6 separate regions of the Homo sapiens genome follow, and regions 1, 2, 3, 5 and 6 are each linked to region 4. Evidence: promoter capture Hi-C in 16 types of primary human blood cells and fetal thymus (Javierre and others, 2016). All regions are on one chromosome and are shown on one strand. The core of a region is centred on a gene start or on the middle of the fragment in contact, and the rest is flanking DNA. Distances in the headings are between cores, read along the strand shown.

Region 1 (2,700 bases), core at 179-2,678, 5.8 Mb before region 4:
GGAGAGGAGAACAGAGTGACGGGGGCCAGACTGAGCCAGGCTTTTTCGGGTGCTGTCAGGATGTTGAGTGAGACAGGAGCCACAAGAGGGTTGTGAACAGAGGGATGACAGGCTGTGACTGAGATTTCAACAGGATCCCCCTGGCGGTTGTGAGAAGAACAGACTGTTGGGGCTGAAGAAGCCACTGCGGTAGATGATGGTGGTAGCAGTGGGGCTGGCGAGAAGTAGCTGGGGTCTGGAGAAAGCCTGAACACAGAATAGGACTTGCTGACAGATAGCATGCCCGGGGGAGGTGAGAGAAGGGTCCAGGGTGAGTCTAGGTTTGTGGCCTAATCACCCACAAAGACAGCATTGTGGTCAGCTGAGGTGGGAGCCTTGCAGGAGAGTAAGTTTTGAGGGGGGTCACACCAGTTTTGGAGATGGTCAGTTTCAGAGGCCTGTCAGACATCTACGGGTATGCTATGAATACATTTTAATAATTTAAAAATGCAAGCCAGGCATACGATCCTTACCGTGGGCTGCACACTCTTTGAATCATTTAACTCATTGAATCCTCAAACCACCGTTAAAGGGTGGGGATTATCATTTCCCCCATTTTCCACATGAGGCAATGGAGGTACAGAGAAGTAACCTGCCCCAAGTCACACAGCTGGAAGTTGGCAGAGCCGGAATTCAAAACCTAAGTGGTTTGGCTCTAGTGAGCAATCGCCTTACACCACCAGTTCTCCATGAAGAGAAACAGAGAAGGGTAAGATCCTAGAGAGTGACAGGAATGCTGTTTTTACACAGGGTGTACAAGGAGTTCTTCCCCAAGGAAGTGACACCTGGCCTGAAGGAGGGGAGGTAGCAAGCCAGGCTGCCCTCTGTGGGGGAGGGCCTTCAGGCGGAGCGAACGGCGTGTACAAAGGCTCTGAGGCAGCCACCCTGAACTATCTACCGTTCCCGAGACAGTTCCAACCTCTGAGGGTAAGCACGGGCTGCTCTCCCCGCAGGGAGAGCTCTTCCCTCACTTCATGGACTCAATTACACAATCATCGCATTCCAGGAAGAATTCATTCTTCCTCTGCGTGATCAAAGGTGCCAAATAACCTGCCTGCCCTTGCAAATCTGTTCTTCTTTCTGAGTCTTCAGCCTTATGTTCCTCTGCCCCTGTTCTGGCTATTCTGGCTCAAGGTTACCCTGAGCAAGTTACTCAGCCTCTCTTTGCTTGTTTCCTCATCTGTAAAATGGGGATATTTTACTCTCAAAGTCAAATATTCTCAAAAGTACACCTACCCTCCAAGGCTTCTGTGAGGATTAACTGTGTCAATTCTGTAAAATACTTCTGTAAAAGACTTGAGGGGTTGACTTTTTTTTTTGTTTTTACAAGTAGCATTGTTAGGAACTTCTTTTTTATACATGTGCCTTTGTATAGTATATTCCAAGCACCATAGTGTTTAACAATGAATATTTACTGAAATAACACTACCCAGGTGCCAGAAAATCAAATCACTCTTAGAAACATCTTTTATGCCTGTGCCTTTAGGAGAGTGTATTATGCACACCACAGTGGTTATTTTTTGGGTTTTTTTTCGGAGACGGGGATCTCACTATGTTGCACAGGCTGGCCTGGAACTCCTGGGCTCAAGTGATCCTCCCACCTCAGCCTCTGTGCCCAGCTATACACCACAGTTTTGTGAACACATTCTTTCAATGCAACAACACAGTCCTTATTCACATATACAACTAGCACTCTTAGAAACAGCTTTTATACCTGTGCCTCCATAGAGCATATTACATACCTCAGTTTTGTGAACATATCCTTTTGAAAAGGAGGAAAATCCTTATTCATATATAAACTGGCATTCTTAGAAATATCTTTGACACATGTATCTTTTTGTAGTGCATTCCAGGCACCACCGTGTGGTAAACATCCTTTGGGGGTTGGTATTTGAACAGAAAAGTGCCTCTGATGTGTGGCAGATACTCCACAGATATTAGCTATTAGCTAGTGTGTCATCCTTCTCCCCCTGCCCCTGCAATCCTATCCTATGTATCACCTGCACTATCTGGCTCCCATCACCTGTGTGACCTCACCTTCTACCCTTCCCCGCACTCTGCTCCAGCCACACTGGCCGCCTTGATGTTCCTTGAACATGGCAGGCACCATCCCACCTCAGGGCCTCTGAACTGGCACTTCCTTCTGCCTGGTATGCTCTTCCCGTAGACATTAAGGCTCTCTCCGTCTCTACCGTGAGGCCCTAATTCAAGAGTCACCTTCCCTATGCCTAAGATTTCAACCACCCCCAATACTCGATTCCTACCTGCCCTATTTCATTATTTCTTCTCAGCATTTGTCTATTATGCTAATTTTACTTATTTATTTTGTTCACATAGTCTGTCTCCCCAGCTTGGGTTTTTTTTTTTTTTTTTTTGAGACAGAGTCTCGCTCTGTCACCCATGCTGGAGTGCATGGTGCAATCTTGGCTCACTGCAACCTCCGCCTCCTGGGTTCAAGCAATTCTCCTGCCTCAGCCTCCCAAGTAACTGGGATTACAGGCGCACGCCGCCACACCCAGCTAATTTTTTTGTATTTTAGTAGAGATGGGGTTTCACCGTGATGCCCAGGCTGGTCTTGAACTCCTGAGCTCAGGCAATCCACCCACCTCAGCCTCCCAAAGTGCTAGGATTACTGGTGTTAGCCACCGTGCCCAGCCTCCC
Region 2 (2,700 bases), core at 55-2,554, 5.9 Mb before region 4:
TAGTTTTTGTTGTGTTCTTGTTATTGGGCTATCATCCCTGAGTTAATCAAACTTAATTAGCAAGGGAGTATGGTGAGTGAATGAGATAATTTATACAAACACTTTAGCACATAGTACACAGAAAGTGCTCAATAAGTGGCTGCCATCATCACTACAATTATTATTATTGATCTATCCTCCTCGAATTAAGGATGTTAATCAGAACCCCAGGGAAGGTTCCTGCATTGTCAGAAAGCTGGTGGGCAAGGATTGCCCCACCCCACCCCCCACCAGGGGTACAGGTCCATGGGGAGGGGGCAGGGCAGGATGGGGTGGGGATTAGTTTTCTACTGACCCACTCACTTGCTTCTTTCACCATCATTCATGGCCACCCCCTTCCCAATGCTCATTCATTCACCCGCACCATTCCCTGCTTGCTAGGACGGTGCCACTCCTGAGTTACAACCCTGGTGCCAGGTAGCCTCTGTTTGAATCCCGGCCATGCCCTGTGATCTTAGGAAAATTCTACAGTTCCTCTACGCCCCATATTTCCTCATCCGTAAAACGGGAATAAGAACCGGTACCCATCTCAGAGATTTGTTGTGAGCTTTGAGTGAGATAAACTATGCTGAGTGCCTGGTATACAGTAGGTGCTGTATAAATGCCGGCTATTTGCCTGTGTTATTTGAGACCCTGGCTTTGGCTCCTGGCCACCTGAGTTCCAGTCTCAGTTCTGCCATGTATTGACTCTGTGATCCTGGGTAAGTCACTTAACCACTCCGTGCCTCAGTTTCCCCATTTTGTATTCCTCCCCTTTCACCTGCCTTATCTCCCTCCACTGCTGCTACTTAATTTGTTTCCTCTCTGCCACCCCTCACCAGCATGTCAGACATACAAAACAAGGGATTTTTGTGTGCTTGGCACACAGTAGATGCACAATAAATGTTGAAGGGCTGAACTAATTTGGGTTTGAGTCATAGGGAGCTTGGGGGATGTGGGTGATTGGATAGATTCTGGAGACTTTAGGGGACTGGGCCGGGGGAAATGCGGCCTCTAAGCTCTCCGCTGAGGCGGCTTGGAAGGAATAGTGACTGACGTGGAGGTGGGGGAGGTGGCTGGCCCGGGCGAGGCCCAGGGAGAGGGAGAGGAGGCGGGTGGGAGAGGAGGAGGGTGTATCTCCTTTCGTCGGCCCGCCCCTTGGCTTCTGCACTGATGGTGGGTGGATGAGTAATGCATCCAGGAAGCCTGGAGGCCTGTGGTTTCCGCACCCGCTGCCACCCCCGCCCCTAGCGTGGACATTTATCCTCTAGCGCTCAGGCCCTGCCGCCATCGCCGCAGATCCAGCGCCCAGAGAGACACCAGAGGTAAGCAGGGCCCGGGGTGGCCCAGCAGGGACCGGAGCTGGGCTGCAGCTTGGGTGCTGGCCACCAGGCCCGTGCACTCCCGTGCCAGATGCCTGTCTACTCAGCTTGGCCTGCGGGTACCAGGACCCTGGGCTAGTCTAGGGGGAAGAGGGTCGGAGGCTGGAACTGCTTTCCCAACCCCGAGGCTCCAAACTCCCTAGAACCCCTGACATCCGCCCCCAATTCCCCCAAACCCATGACCCCCTAATATCACAAATGCTTTCCAAATCCCCCCGCAAATTCCTTCATCCCGAAATTTCCCTCATCGCCCCCTAAATACCCACCGCTAACCCCTGCAGCTCCCTAAACTCCCCCAGCTCCCCAATCCCCAGTTCCCCAGCTCCCAAACTTCTTTTGCCCTCAAATTCCTCAAGTATCCCCATTGCCTTAAGCCCCCAAATTCCCCCAACCCCTTCAACCTCCAAACTCCCCCAGCTCCCTAAACCCCCAACCTCCTCCAAATTCCTCAACCTCCCTAAATTCCCCCAGCCTCTTATATCTCTTAATATACACAACCCCTAAACTCTGCCGTCTCCAAACTCCTCCAGCCCCCAATCCCAAATTCCTCACCCCCAAACTCCTCAACCTCCAGAATTCCCCAATCCCCTCATTCCTCAAACTTCCTCAGCCCCCTTCTCCCCCAAGTGCCACAACCCCATAACCCCGCAACTCACTCAGTCCCTCAATAATTTAAACTCTCCCAACTCTCTAAACCCTAAATTCCTCTGCGCTCCCCAATCCCCTTAAAATCCCTAAGCTTACCAACCCCTCAAGCCCAAATCCAGCCCCCTAATCCCCCCCATAGGCTGCCCCGGGGCAAGATGGGGTGGATGACCTGCCCAGGTCAGCAGATCAGCTGGGCCGGGGCCTGCCTGACATCCCCCTTCCCCACAGAACCCACCATGGCCCCCTTTGAGCCCCTGGCTTCTGGCATCCTGTTGTTGCTGTGGCTGATAGCCCCCAGCAGGGCCTGCACCTGTGTCCCACCCCACCCACAGACGGCCTTCTGCAATTCCGACCTCGGTGAGTCCTCACCCCACTCAGCCCACACACTCTGCCTTGGTTTCCCTTTCAGTCCAGTGGGGCTCACCATGGCACTTACCTCTAGAATGATTCCACTCGCCCCTGCACTTCCTCTGCTTTAGCCACACTGGCATCCTCACACTTCCTTGAGTACTCTGTGCCCAAGCCCACCACAGGATCTGCATGCTGGCTGCTCCCTCTGCCTGGTACACTTTCCCCCCAGGTATCCACATGGGTGGCTGCCTCAAACGTCACCTTCTCAGGATGGCCTTCCCTGGCCATCCTGTTTAAAATT
Region 3 (2,700 bases), core at 3-2,502, 6.3 Mb before region 4:
TCAGCTGAGGCACAAGAATCGCTTGAACTCGGGAGGTGGAGGTTGCAGTGAGCCAAGATCTTGCCACTGTACTCCAGCCAGGGCGACAGAGCGATACTCCATCTCAAAAAAAAAAAAAAAAAAAAAGGCCGGGGCGGTGGCTCACACCTGTAATTCCAACACTTTGGGAGGCCGAGGCAGGCAGATCACAAAGTCAAGAGATGGAGACCATCCTGGCCAACATAGTGAAACTGTCTCTACTAAAAATACAAAAATTAGCTGGGTGTAGTGGCACGCACCTGTAGTCCCAGCTACTCGGGAGGCTGAGGCAGGAGAATCACTTGAACCCGGGAGACAGAGATTGCGGTGAGCCGAGATTGTGCCACCACTGCACTCCAGCCTGGTGACAGAGCAAGACTCTGTCTCAAAAAAAAAAAAATTTAAAAAAAAATTGGAATTAGACCAACTCAACTCAGGTGAATTTTTACTGAGCAACTTTGAACCGGAGTGAATTCTCCTGAGCCAATTTAATTCCTTGATCAATGCCATACAGTGGTGCAGTTAACCCAAAACCAATTTTGGCTGTCTCATTTCTCTGAAGTTATTTTCATCGTGATCATTTTCTGGTTAATTTTTGCAACGATGATTCAATCCATACATTGATTCTCTTATCTGTGTCAAATTCAAGCAGTAACAGCTTCCCTCAGATAGCTCCTTGGCCTCAGGCTGCTCCTTGACCATCTCAGGCACATACATTCTTGCTTCTGGAACTTGGTACTTATTGTTCCTTCTGCCAGAAATGCTCTTGCATCTGTGTAGTTCATCTCTGGCTTCCTTCACATTTTTTTCCTTCAAGTAATCACCTTTGCTGACTATCCTATTTAAATTCAGGTTCTCCTCTCCCCCCAACTCCCTGACACCCCCCTTACCAGATTTACTTATTTATTTATTTTTGGGATAGGGTCTTGCTCGGTCACCCAGGCTGGAGTGCAGTGGCCCGATCTCAGCTCACTGCAACCTTTGCCTCCCGTGCTCCAGCAATTCTCCACCTCAGCCTTCCGAGTAGCTGGAATTACAGGCGTGTGACACCATGCCCAGCCCAGTTGCCCAGGCTGGCCTCAGGCTCCTGGCCTCAAGTGATCTGCCCACCTCAGCCTCCCAAAGTGCTGGGATTACAGGCGTGAGCCACCACACCCAGCCTCTGGATTTATTTTTAACTTAATCCATACTTATCACTTCCCTACATACATATAACACACAAATTGTGCTGTTTATTTTCTGTCTCTCCCAGCTGGAATACAGGCTCCATGAGGGCGGGCATTTTTAAATCTTTTGTTCCCTGCTGTATCCCCTTTGCCTGTAACAGTGCCTGGGCAGGAGGATCGCTTCAGTCCAGGGTCCAGGCTGCAGTGAGCCATAGTCATGCCACTGCACTCCAGCCTGACCAACAGAGCAAGACCCTATCTCAAAACAAAAATAAAAACAAAACAACAGGAACAGTGCCTAGGACCCTGTAGGCACTTCAATAAATATTTGTTGAATGAATACCTCCTGTCATTCTGAGCTTTATTTGTGGACAGTTTCCATTGAGTCTAATATTTCAGGATCAAAATTTGCAGGTCCACATTTTGTTGAGAACATCAAAAACTTCCATCAATTTTCCCTCAACACAGTTTCAGGTTCACAGTTTTGGCTGCTGTCAGTTTATTCTGTGGTGCTTATGTTTATTGGTAATAGTCACTGTTAATCTGGTAAGATGTTCTATTTTTATTTTCTGGGTGATGTCCTATTAGATTGAAGGATAAAGGAGGCCAGTATCTATTATGTGGGCAGAACAAAGTTGCGTCCAAAATATGAAAGTTCAAAGGTCCCTGGGGTCGAACAGTAGGGTGAAAACATTGTATTAAGGTCTCTGATCACTCACACCAGCCTCTGCCCTCATCCTGGGAAATTCCTAAGGGCAGGGACCCTGATATCCGCCAGTGCCTGGCACACTGTTGGGGCTTGGCACTCAGTAGGCACTCCCTCCCTCTTCATCCCAATGTGGTCCTTAAAAGGTCAGTCATCCCCAGCCTGGCCAACATGGTGAAACCCTGTCTCTACTAAAAAAAAAATACAAACAAAATTAGCCGGGCGTGGTGGTGGGTGCCTGTAGTTCCAGCTACTCAGGAGGCTGAGGCAGGAGAATCGTTTGAACCTGGGAGAAGGAGGTTGCAGAGAGCCGAGATCATGCCACTGCATTCCAGCCTGGGCAACAGAGTGAGACCCTGTCTCAAGAAAAGAAAAAAAAAAAGGTTAGTCATCCGCCAGAATGGCTGCAGTGAAAAAGATGGGAAATGCCGAATGATGGGGAGTCAACTCTGGGAAAGTGTAGATTGGAAAATTGGCATGATTTACTGAAGCTGATTGGTCACATGTCTACGCAATGACTTAGCAATTCCATTCCTAGGTTATATACCCAAGAAATGAGTACATATGTCTATCAAAAGATGTGTACAAGAATGTTCACAGAATTATTCTTAGCCAGGCACAGTGGCTCATGCTTGTAATCCCAGCACTCTGGGAGGCCAAGGTAGGTGGATCACTTAAGATCAGGGGTTTGAGATCAGCCTGGCCAACCTGGTGAAACACTGTCTCTACTAAAAATACAAAAATTAGCTGGGCCTGGTGGGTCACGCCTATAACCCCAGCTACTCGGGAGGCTGAGGCATGAGAATCACT
Region 4 (2,700 bases), core at 111-2,610:
TGGGTGCAGTGGCTCACACCTGTAATCCCAGCACTTTGGGAGGCCGAGGCGGGCGGATCACGTGAGATCAGGAGTTCAAGACCAGCCCGGCCAACATGGTGAAACCCCATCTCTTCTAAAAATACAAAAAAAAAAATTAGCTGGGCGTGGTGGCAGGTGCCTGTAATCCCAGCTACTTGGGAGGTTGAGGCAGGAAAATCGCTTGAACCCAGAAGATGGAGGTTGCAAGGAGCTGAGATTGTGCCACTGCACTCCAGCCTGGGCAACAGAGCGAGACTCCATCTCAAAAATAAAAATAAAAAATAACCCTCTTGTGAGAATTATTGATAGGAAGATAAACTAGCTTTTTTGTATCCTTACCTGCTAAGATGATTTCATCAAGTTTCACTTTCTGTAGTTTGTTTCATGAAAACAAGTTTTTTGACTTTGTAAATATAAAATTACAAGGCACAAAATGCATTTTCAAACCATACATAACTCCTCCAGGAGATTGTTACGTCCAATCCCCATCCTCATTGTTGTGAATCCCAGCTTTAGAGAATCCTTATCACAGGTGGTCCCACAGTGCTTGAAGGCTCAGGCCAAAAGAGACAAGGAGATGGGTCTACCGCCCCCATAGAGGAGACCCTTATGGGAGGGACCCCCACAGGTTCCCAGGCCGGTGTTGGTGACCTCATGCACACCCTGGGAGAGGAGAGGTGACCCCACTTACGTCGGCTGGGGCGAAAACGCAGTTGTTTCCTAACTTCTTGGCTTGGGCCTCCCCACCCGAGTTGGGCAGGTCCAGAAGCACAGCAGAGGCTCCCTGCCCCACAAGTCGCTCCGCCGTGGCCAGGCCCAGGCCCGAGGCTCCTCCGGTTATTACCGCCACCAGGCCCTGTCAAAAGGGACATGGTCAGGGTCAGCTGTTACATTGCCCAGACCATCCCCACGCTGTCGCCTGCCTGTTCTCCAGGCTTCTGAGGAGAAGGGGGGAGGGGAGAGGTCGTGGTCACCCCTGCGGGTAAACTAGGTGTGCTGCTTCTCCTCAGCGTTGGGACCTCGGGGGCAGAAGGGATCTCATCCCCAGACAGCCCGTCCCGTGACGATAGATAGATAGATGATTGATAGATAGATAGATAGACAGACAGACAGACAGACAGATGCGCCGCGGAGTGCTGACTTTCACCTCTTGAGCCCAACGGCCACAATACCAGGCCTACATAAGCATGACCCTTTCCCTCGAAACCGATCTCTTTCTCCTAGTTCCACGGCCGCGCTGTCCCGGCCCGTAAAGGAAGGCAAGCAACAGAGGCAAAGAACCTTCTACCTTCACGCTCCGACACGCTGCTGCCATCTTGTCGCCGGCCACTCCACGGGATGGGGATGGGGGCGCGGGCGCTCGTTGATTGGCCGAGGCGAAGCGGCGGAAGGGGCGGATGCGACGGGCCGGGGCGTCTGCCGCTGCCGCATGAGACGTGGGGGCGTGGCCTGGTACGCTAGTCCTTTGGCCAGAGGGCGGATTCCGCCTGCTAAGGTATCCCCAGAGTTATTTCAACTGGGGAAAGAGACCAATAGCAGAAGTACAATACCACAACACCCCTCGCCCTACTCTCTAGCTGGCCTTTTGGCAAGTGGCCTGCTCCGCGTGGGGGAAGAGGGGTGGATATTGAGAACGGATGCCTTTCTCCTCTGAAAAAGTCTTAATTCAAGTATGAATGTATTTGAGACTCCTATATGCTAGACGGTGTGCGGGGCACCTGGGATACCCAGCGGAATAATAAAAGATTCATGCCTTCCAGGAGGGCACAGTCCAGGTGGAGAAAGAGAATTACAGTACAGACACAGACGAATGGACGGAACCAGATTCTGGGACACTCAGACAAGGAGATCCAAAGATGAGGAGTCTGAGTTAGAGAGAGAGAGAGCCATGTAAAGAGAAATATGTTGAGGCCGAGATAGGAAGAGAGATGCCAGGTAGGATCACAGAGAGATGAATGTGGAAAGCCGCTAAGAGAGATGCTTGGAGACAGACATTCTAGGACAGCTGCTGAGAAGCACAAACCTAAAGAGGCAAAAACATCTTTCATCAGTTCAGGCTTTGCTACTCTCCTCTATCTTTGTCTAATTTAAGTCCAAAAGCCCAGATCACACACTGCAGATTGGACTTCAACCAGAGACTATTATTTAAGACCCAGGTCTTTGTCATCCTAGAACATCTTTCAGGCAGCTTCCAGAAGCTATGTCATTAGAGTCTTGAGCCCAGATATCTAATCTGTCTTCCTTCTATACTTTTCCTCAAACCAAGGTCTTCAGGCCATAAATCTTAGCCCACCATTTCAGCCTCAGAACTGCTTTATGTTTTCTCTATCTGAAATATCTCCCCCCACTTGCTTTCTCACCCAGGAAGATTCCCCTCCAGGCCTTCTAGTTGTTGACAGCCACCACACTCATAATCACTACACCGTATTTACCAAAGGATTTAGCACACCGGTCTCACAATTTTCCTATCTACATGAAGTGCTTCCATCAATTTATAGCACTCTTCATCCGGCCCAATATGCTGTAGCCACAGTGGCCTCCTTTGTGTTCATCTTTGCATTAGCTGCTCCCTCTGCTTGGAATGCTCTCCCCTGATCTTTGCATGACTGCTTTTATTTTTTTTCATTCAGAACTAAGCTTAAATATCACCTTCCCAGAGGGGTCCTCCCTAAATATTCA
Region 5 (2,700 bases), core at 123-2,622, 6.6 Mb before region 4:
AGGAGATCGAGACCAGCCTGCCCAACATGGTGAAACCCCGTCTCTACTAAAAATACAAAAATTAGCCGGGCGTAGTGGCAGGCGCCTGCAGTCCCAGCTACTCTGGAGGCTGAGGCAGGATAATCACTTGAACCCGGGAGGCGGAGGTTGCAGTGAGCCGAGATGGCACTGCTGCACTCCAGCCTGGGCGACAAGAGCAAAAACTCCATCAAAAAAAAAAAAAAAAAAAAAAGATATACCTTTTTGATCTCAAGAAAGTCACAGTTCAAATAGGGAAACAATACACAATTAACTATTTTACTAAGTACTTGTGCAATTTTAGAGCCATATGTGAAAGTCTTAAGAAAACACAGAAGCAGCCTGGGGTGCGGTGGGTCCTGCCTGTAATCCCAGCACCTTGAGAGGCTGAGGCAGGATGATCGCTTGGGCCCAGGAGTTCAAGACCAGCCTGGGCGACATAGCAAGACCCCATTTCTACAAAAGTAAAAAAAAAAAAAAATAGGTGGGCATGGTGGTGCTTGCTTGTAGTTCCAGCTACTCAGGAAGGAGGCTGAGGCAGGAGGATCGCTTGAGCCCAGGAAGTCAAGGTTGCAAAGTTGCAAGGTTGCAGTGAGTTATGATTGTGCCACTGCAGCCTGAGTGACATAGCGAGACCCTGTGAAAGAAAAAGAAAGAAAGAAAGAAAGAAAGAAAGAAAGAAAGAAAGAAAGAAAGAAAGAAAGAAAGAAAGAGCACAGAAGAGGATTGGGAGGTTATGGGGTACAATTCTTGAGGGGGTGACCCTGGCCAGGCGATGAGAGGGCGGTAGGAAGGGTGATGAGGGGAGAAGAGGATTTAGAAATACAAATTTCAGGGTCTTCTTGTGTCAGCGGGAATTTCTGTCCCTCACAACTTTCATCATAAGATAAATCTAATGTTCAACTAGAGATCTCTCCCGCGCCTTGAACTTGCAAATTTATGAATCAGGGGCAAAAAAAACCCGGATACCGAGCCTGGCCTCCCACCAGCTAGAGAACCCACCAAGTTCCAGGAGGGGCGGGGCCGAGGGCGGTCCGTGCCACAGCTGTGGGCGGGGTTGTCCGTGCTTGCGCCAGAGCCGGCCCGCCCCGCCGCCAGGGGCTGTCGCAGGAGCCAGGCGTGGATTGGTATGTGGGTATGTCGGCCTCTCTTCATAGGCCGCGCAGGATTGCTCGAGAGGCTTTGATTGGCTCAACAGGCGCTGAGCGTTCATTGGCTGCGCTGGGTCGTCAGGGCGACGAAAAAGGGGAAGGGGTGCTGGGCCTGGCGGGCAAACTAAGGCTGCGGACCGTTGGGCGGTTCCGCGGGGCGTTGTCCGGAGAGCTGCGAGGCCGGGGTTCCCAGGGTTCACGCCACACTCTAGGAAGTGCCTGAGCTAGTGAGCTGGCCAACGAGCTCCGCGGGCTGGGACCATGGGCTGCTTCTTCTCCAAGAGACGGAAGGCTGACAAGGAGTCGCGGCCCGAGAACGAGGAGGAGCGGCCAAAGCAGTACAGCTGGGATCAGCGCGAGAAGGTAATGAAAGTCGTGTAGCCGCCGTCTCAGCCTCCCTGAGCCGCTCCGCCAGGTCCCTTACGGCCCGGGACCGCTGAGGGGGCCGACCCAACTGCTGCCGCACTCTCTTGAACGCGGATAGCTGAAGTCGGGGTGCACGACTTTTTTGGGGAGCGGGGACGTGAAGTACAGCGCTAGAGAGGCCGCCCAGAGGGCTGTGGAGCTCCGGAAGGAGCCTTAGGAGTTTGTTGTCGTGGTAGACAGACTCCCCCGGGAGCTTTCTCTGACTCCGAACCCTGCCTTGCTCTGACTTCCTGTTGGAGATGATCGATTCGAGAGAGGGAAAGAGCCGAGAACGCCCTGAATCTCAAATCACCTCGTTTCACCCACCGGCAGCGTCAAGCGGGGTTTTGTCCAGTCGTCGAGTTACGTATATGGGACCGATTCTCATCTCTTCCGGGGCTTAATGTTCTGTGGCTGTTTTCTCTTTTGTCTGCCCTCCCCGGCAAATCTCTTTGGTGCCTCATGATATATTTCACTGCTGAATTTTCTCAATTACCAAGTGGACTGTTTAATGTACAGCTTTACTCCCCCTCCTCTTCCAGTTATCCGAAAGAAATAATGAATATCGCATCAGTCTTGGAATGTGTATTAAGACTGTAAGGTGAAAATAAGCGGCATAAACCAGGCAGTATTTTACTGCTGGTTTAAATGAATGAAAACGCCCTTATTTTTATTTTTGTATATAGCCAGAAACGAAAAACCTTTGAAAACCTCCATTAGTCTTACACAAAACACACTCGGTCATACATTTCATAATAGTTCCTCTTTCTACATAGTTCTCCATTTGTGCTTACTAAACTACTTTGATGGACTTATCAATTATTTCTCCCAAACAAAATGAGAGATTTTTCAAATGGGTATTATGAACAGTTAACTCTTTGCTTAAGGCAACATATCTTTACCCAAGATTACTTTATAATAAATGTATTAACGTTTTGGAATCACAGACCTTTCTGCATGATTTCCAATCCCCAGCAGAATGTATTCAGGTAAGCTCTGGTCTCTAAGAGTCAGAGTTAGGAAATTGAAAGCTTTTTGCAGCTTTTCTCAGCCCCGTCTTTCTGCCCCTACTTCTCATACACACCCTTCTTGGGTCACATGGTACCTTTATTCTCTGTTAGTCATA
Region 6 (2,700 bases), core at 144-2,643, 6.2 Mb before region 4:
CCAAAGGCAATGTGCAGGTGGTGATCCCCTTCCTGACAGAGTCGTACAGTTCCAGCCAGGACCCACCTGAGAAGTCCATCCCCATCTGTACCCTGAAGAACTTCCCTAATGCCATCGAGCACACCCTGCAGGTGATAAGCTGTGGGAGAAGGGAAAGAGGCCAGGCATCTGGCCAGGCTGCTGCCTCTCCGCCCCCAGGCCCTTGCCTTGCCTTCAGATGTTGCATGCCTAAGTGTAAGATGTGCCTTTTCTCCAAACCTCCCTCCCTCACTTCCCACCAGGCAGCCTAGGTTTCTAGAATGACTCATTCTTTTTTCACTTTTATTTTGATTTTTTTTTCAACACATAGACAAATATTAAGAATATTATGATGAATACTCAAATACCATTCCTCACCTAAATTTAACAATTCTTAATGTTTTGCCACATTTTCTTCTTAGATTTATGTAGATTTTTCTTCTTTGTGCTTAAATGTGTCACAGACATCACAGCCCTTTACTCCCTACTATTTCAGTGCCTCTGCCAAGTGAGGATATGTTGCTGTAGAACAGGGTTTCTTAGCTTCAGCACTACTGACATTTGGGGCTGGTTATTTATTTGTCATGGGAGAGGGGATGCCCTGTGCACTGTAGGATGTTTCTCAGCATTCCTGACTTCTGCCCACTAGATGCCAATAGCACTCTCCCTCCATCATGACATCTCAAAATGTCTCCAGACATTGCCAGATGTCCCCAGGGGTGCCACATCACTCCCAGTTGAGAACTACTTCTGTCTAACAGAAACATCATTTTCATGCTCAGCAAAATTAACAATCATTCTTACCATCTCTTCTAGTTATTTATTTGTCTCTAATGGTCCATATTCAGGTTTTCCCCAGCTGTTACTCAAAATGAGTTTAACAGCTGGTTTGTCAGGATGATTCTGTGTGTATGGTGCATTTATCTACAGAACAGTGCATATATTATCTAGCTCGGGGTGTCCAATCATTTGGCTTCCCTGGGCCACATTGGAAGAAGAATTGTCTCGGGCCACACATAAAATATACTAATACTAACGATAGCTGATGAGCTGAAAAAATAAAAGAAAAAAAGATCCGTGCATAAATCTCATAATGTCTTAAGAAAATTTACAAATTTGTGTTGGGCAGCATTCAAAGTCATCCTGGGCTGCATATGGGCCACAGGTTAGACAAGCTTGATCTAGCTGAAGTTTTACAAAGTGAACACACAGGTGACCACCACCTGGGCCAAGAAACAGAACCTAGGGATTACCATTGTGCTGTCAGAATAATTCTTAGTGCAGTGTTTGAGGCCAAACCATTTAGAATAGTAGGAGTATGAGGGTGGGAACAAAATAGGGAAGGGAAAAAAAAAACAGTTCCATCTGTCACTTTCTCCCTTCTGACACTGCAGTTCCAGAGTGGGTATGTTTGTATTTGTGCACCAACCACAGTCTTGCTAGGTCATGTGTAACCTTGAACTTAACCTCTCTGTGCCGCAGATTCCTGTTCTGTAAAATGGGAATGACAGCATCTACCTCACAGGACTATTGTGAACCACTTGGCATTTACTGTGTGCCTGGCACTGTTTTAACCAAGCTTTAAATATATATGTATTTGCTCATTTCTTCCTAGCAACCCCATGAAGGTAGGTATCACTGTTGTAACACCTGTTTTAGAGACAAGGCACAGAGGTAAAGATGTTATCCTGTGTGCCTGAAGTCACAAAACTAGGTAATACGTGGCATAGCTGGAATCTGAACCTGAATTTCTAACATCTGTACACTCCAAACCACCTCGCTAATGACTGCGAACTGTCCTAGGAATTCTCAGAGGCCAGAAGTTCTGTCTTGTTTGCTATTTTATTTTTTGAGACAGGTCTCATTCTGCCATTCAGGCTGAAGTGTATTGGCACAATCATAGCTCACTGCAACCTTCCAACTCCTGGGAAGTGTCTGTACGTGTGTGTGTGTGTGTGTGTAAGTGTCTGTGTGTACGTGTAAGTGTGTGTACGTGTGTGTGTGTGTGTGTGCGCACGCACGCGTGCCCGTTACGTTGACCAGGCTGGTTGTAAACTCCTGGGCTCAAGTGATCCACCTGCCTCAGCCTCCAAAAGTGCTGGGATTACATGTGTAAGCCTCTGTGTCCGGCCTCTGTCTTGTTTTCTGCCAAGTCCTCAGGGCCTGGATAGGGATCATTGTTGGTTTGGTCTGAGTTTTTTGTGTTTTAAAAAACTGTGGTAAGATATACCTAATTGAAGTTTTTATTTTTTATGGAGGCATAACATATCTAGAATAAGGTACACAGATTTTTTTTTTTTTTTTTTTGAGGTGGAGTTTTGCTCATGTTGCCCAGGTTGGAGTGCAGTGGCGCAGTCTCGGCTCACTGCAGCCTCCGCCTCCCAGGTTCAAGCGATTCTCCTGCCTCAGCCTTCCAAAGTGCTGGGAATACAGGCGTGAGCCACCTCGCCTGGCACTCAGATCTTAATACATTTTTAGGCTGGGCATGGCGGCTGACACCTATAATCTCAGCACTCAGGAGGCCAAGGAGTGAGGTTTGTTTGAGCCCAGGAGTTCAAGACCAGCCTAGGCAACATAGCAAGACCCTGTCTCTACAACAAATCTTAAAAATTAGCCGGGTGTGGTGGCATGTGCCTGCTGTCCCAGCTATTCGGGAGGCTGAGGTGGGAGGATCGTTTCAAC

The links. The method cuts DNA at HindIII sites, captures the fragments that hold promoters and counts their contacts. A CHiCAGO score of 5 or more calls a contact.
Region 1: a fragment that was not itself captured here is called in contact with the fragment with the promoter of HSD17B10 in region 4 in 1 of 17 cell types (neutrophils); the score reaches 5.8 in neutrophils.
Region 2: the fragment with the promoter of TIMP1 here is called in contact with the fragment with the promoter of HSD17B10 in region 4 in 1 of 17 cell types (neutrophils); the score reaches 5.7 in neutrophils.
Region 3: a fragment that was not itself captured here is called in contact with the fragment with the promoter of HSD17B10 in region 4 in 1 of 17 cell types (neutrophils); the score reaches 8.7 in neutrophils.
Region 5: the fragment with the promoter of RP2 here is called in contact with the fragment with the promoter of HSD17B10 in region 4 in 1 of 17 cell types (neutrophils); the score reaches 5.9 in neutrophils.
Region 6: a fragment that was not itself captured here is called in contact with the fragment with the promoter of HSD17B10 in region 4 in 1 of 17 cell types (neutrophils); the score reaches 6.2 in neutrophils.

Annotation. Positions count from the first base shown.
Region 1 is chrX:47,644,766-47,647,465 of GRCh38, forward strand. The region is part of intron 2 of ELK1 (ETS transcription factor ELK1); the gene reads right to left. Among named protein-coding and RNA genes, the nearest start is that of ELK1, 4.4 kb to the right of the region's middle. The HindIII fragment of the contact is 5,498 bases long and covers 1-2,700 here.
Region 2 is chrX:47,581,132-47,583,831 of GRCh38, forward strand. It overlaps TIMP1 (TIMP metallopeptidase inhibitor 1), which reads left to right and starts at 1,305. Exons shown (of 6, transcript NM_003254.3): 1 at 1,305-1,343; 2 at 2,277-2,405. The coding sequence starts at 2,285. All of the region lies in intron 5 of SYN1 (synapsin I), which reads right to left. RefSeq lists silencers at 953-1,102, 1,163-1,262. The HindIII fragment of the contact is 9,422 bases long and covers 1-2,137 here.
Region 3 is chrX:47,136,378-47,139,077 of GRCh38, forward strand. No RefSeq gene overlaps it. Among named protein-coding and RNA genes, the nearest start is that of NDUFB11, 7.0 kb to the right of the region's middle. The HindIII fragment of the contact is 4,112 bases long and covers 1-2,700 here.
Region 4 is chrX:53,433,010-53,435,709 of GRCh38, forward strand. It overlaps HSD17B10 (hydroxysteroid 17-beta dehydrogenase 10), which reads right to left and starts at 1,361. Exons shown (of 6, transcript NM_004493.3): 1 at 1,310-1,361; 2 at 713-877. The coding sequence starts at 1,336. The HindIII fragment of the contact is 11,572 bases long and covers 1-2,656 here.
Region 5 is chrX:46,835,671-46,838,370 of GRCh38, forward strand. It overlaps RP2 (RP2 activator of ARL3 GTPase), which reads left to right and starts at 1,373. Exons shown (of 5, transcript NM_006915.3): 1 at 1,373-1,532. The coding sequence starts at 1,431. RefSeq lists a silencer at 975-1,054 and an enhancer at 1,365-1,504. The HindIII fragment of the contact is 11,862 bases long and covers 1-2,603 here.
Region 6 is chrX:47,206,314-47,209,013 of GRCh38, forward strand. UBA1 (ubiquitin like modifier activating enzyme 1) reads left to right here. Exons shown (of 26, transcript NM_003334.4): 16 at 1-131. All of the region lies in intron 2 of LOC105373194 (a long non-coding RNA gene), which reads right to left. Among named protein-coding and RNA genes, the nearest start is that of INE1, 2.8 kb to the left of the region's middle. The HindIII fragment of the contact is 404 bases long and covers 1,192-1,595 here.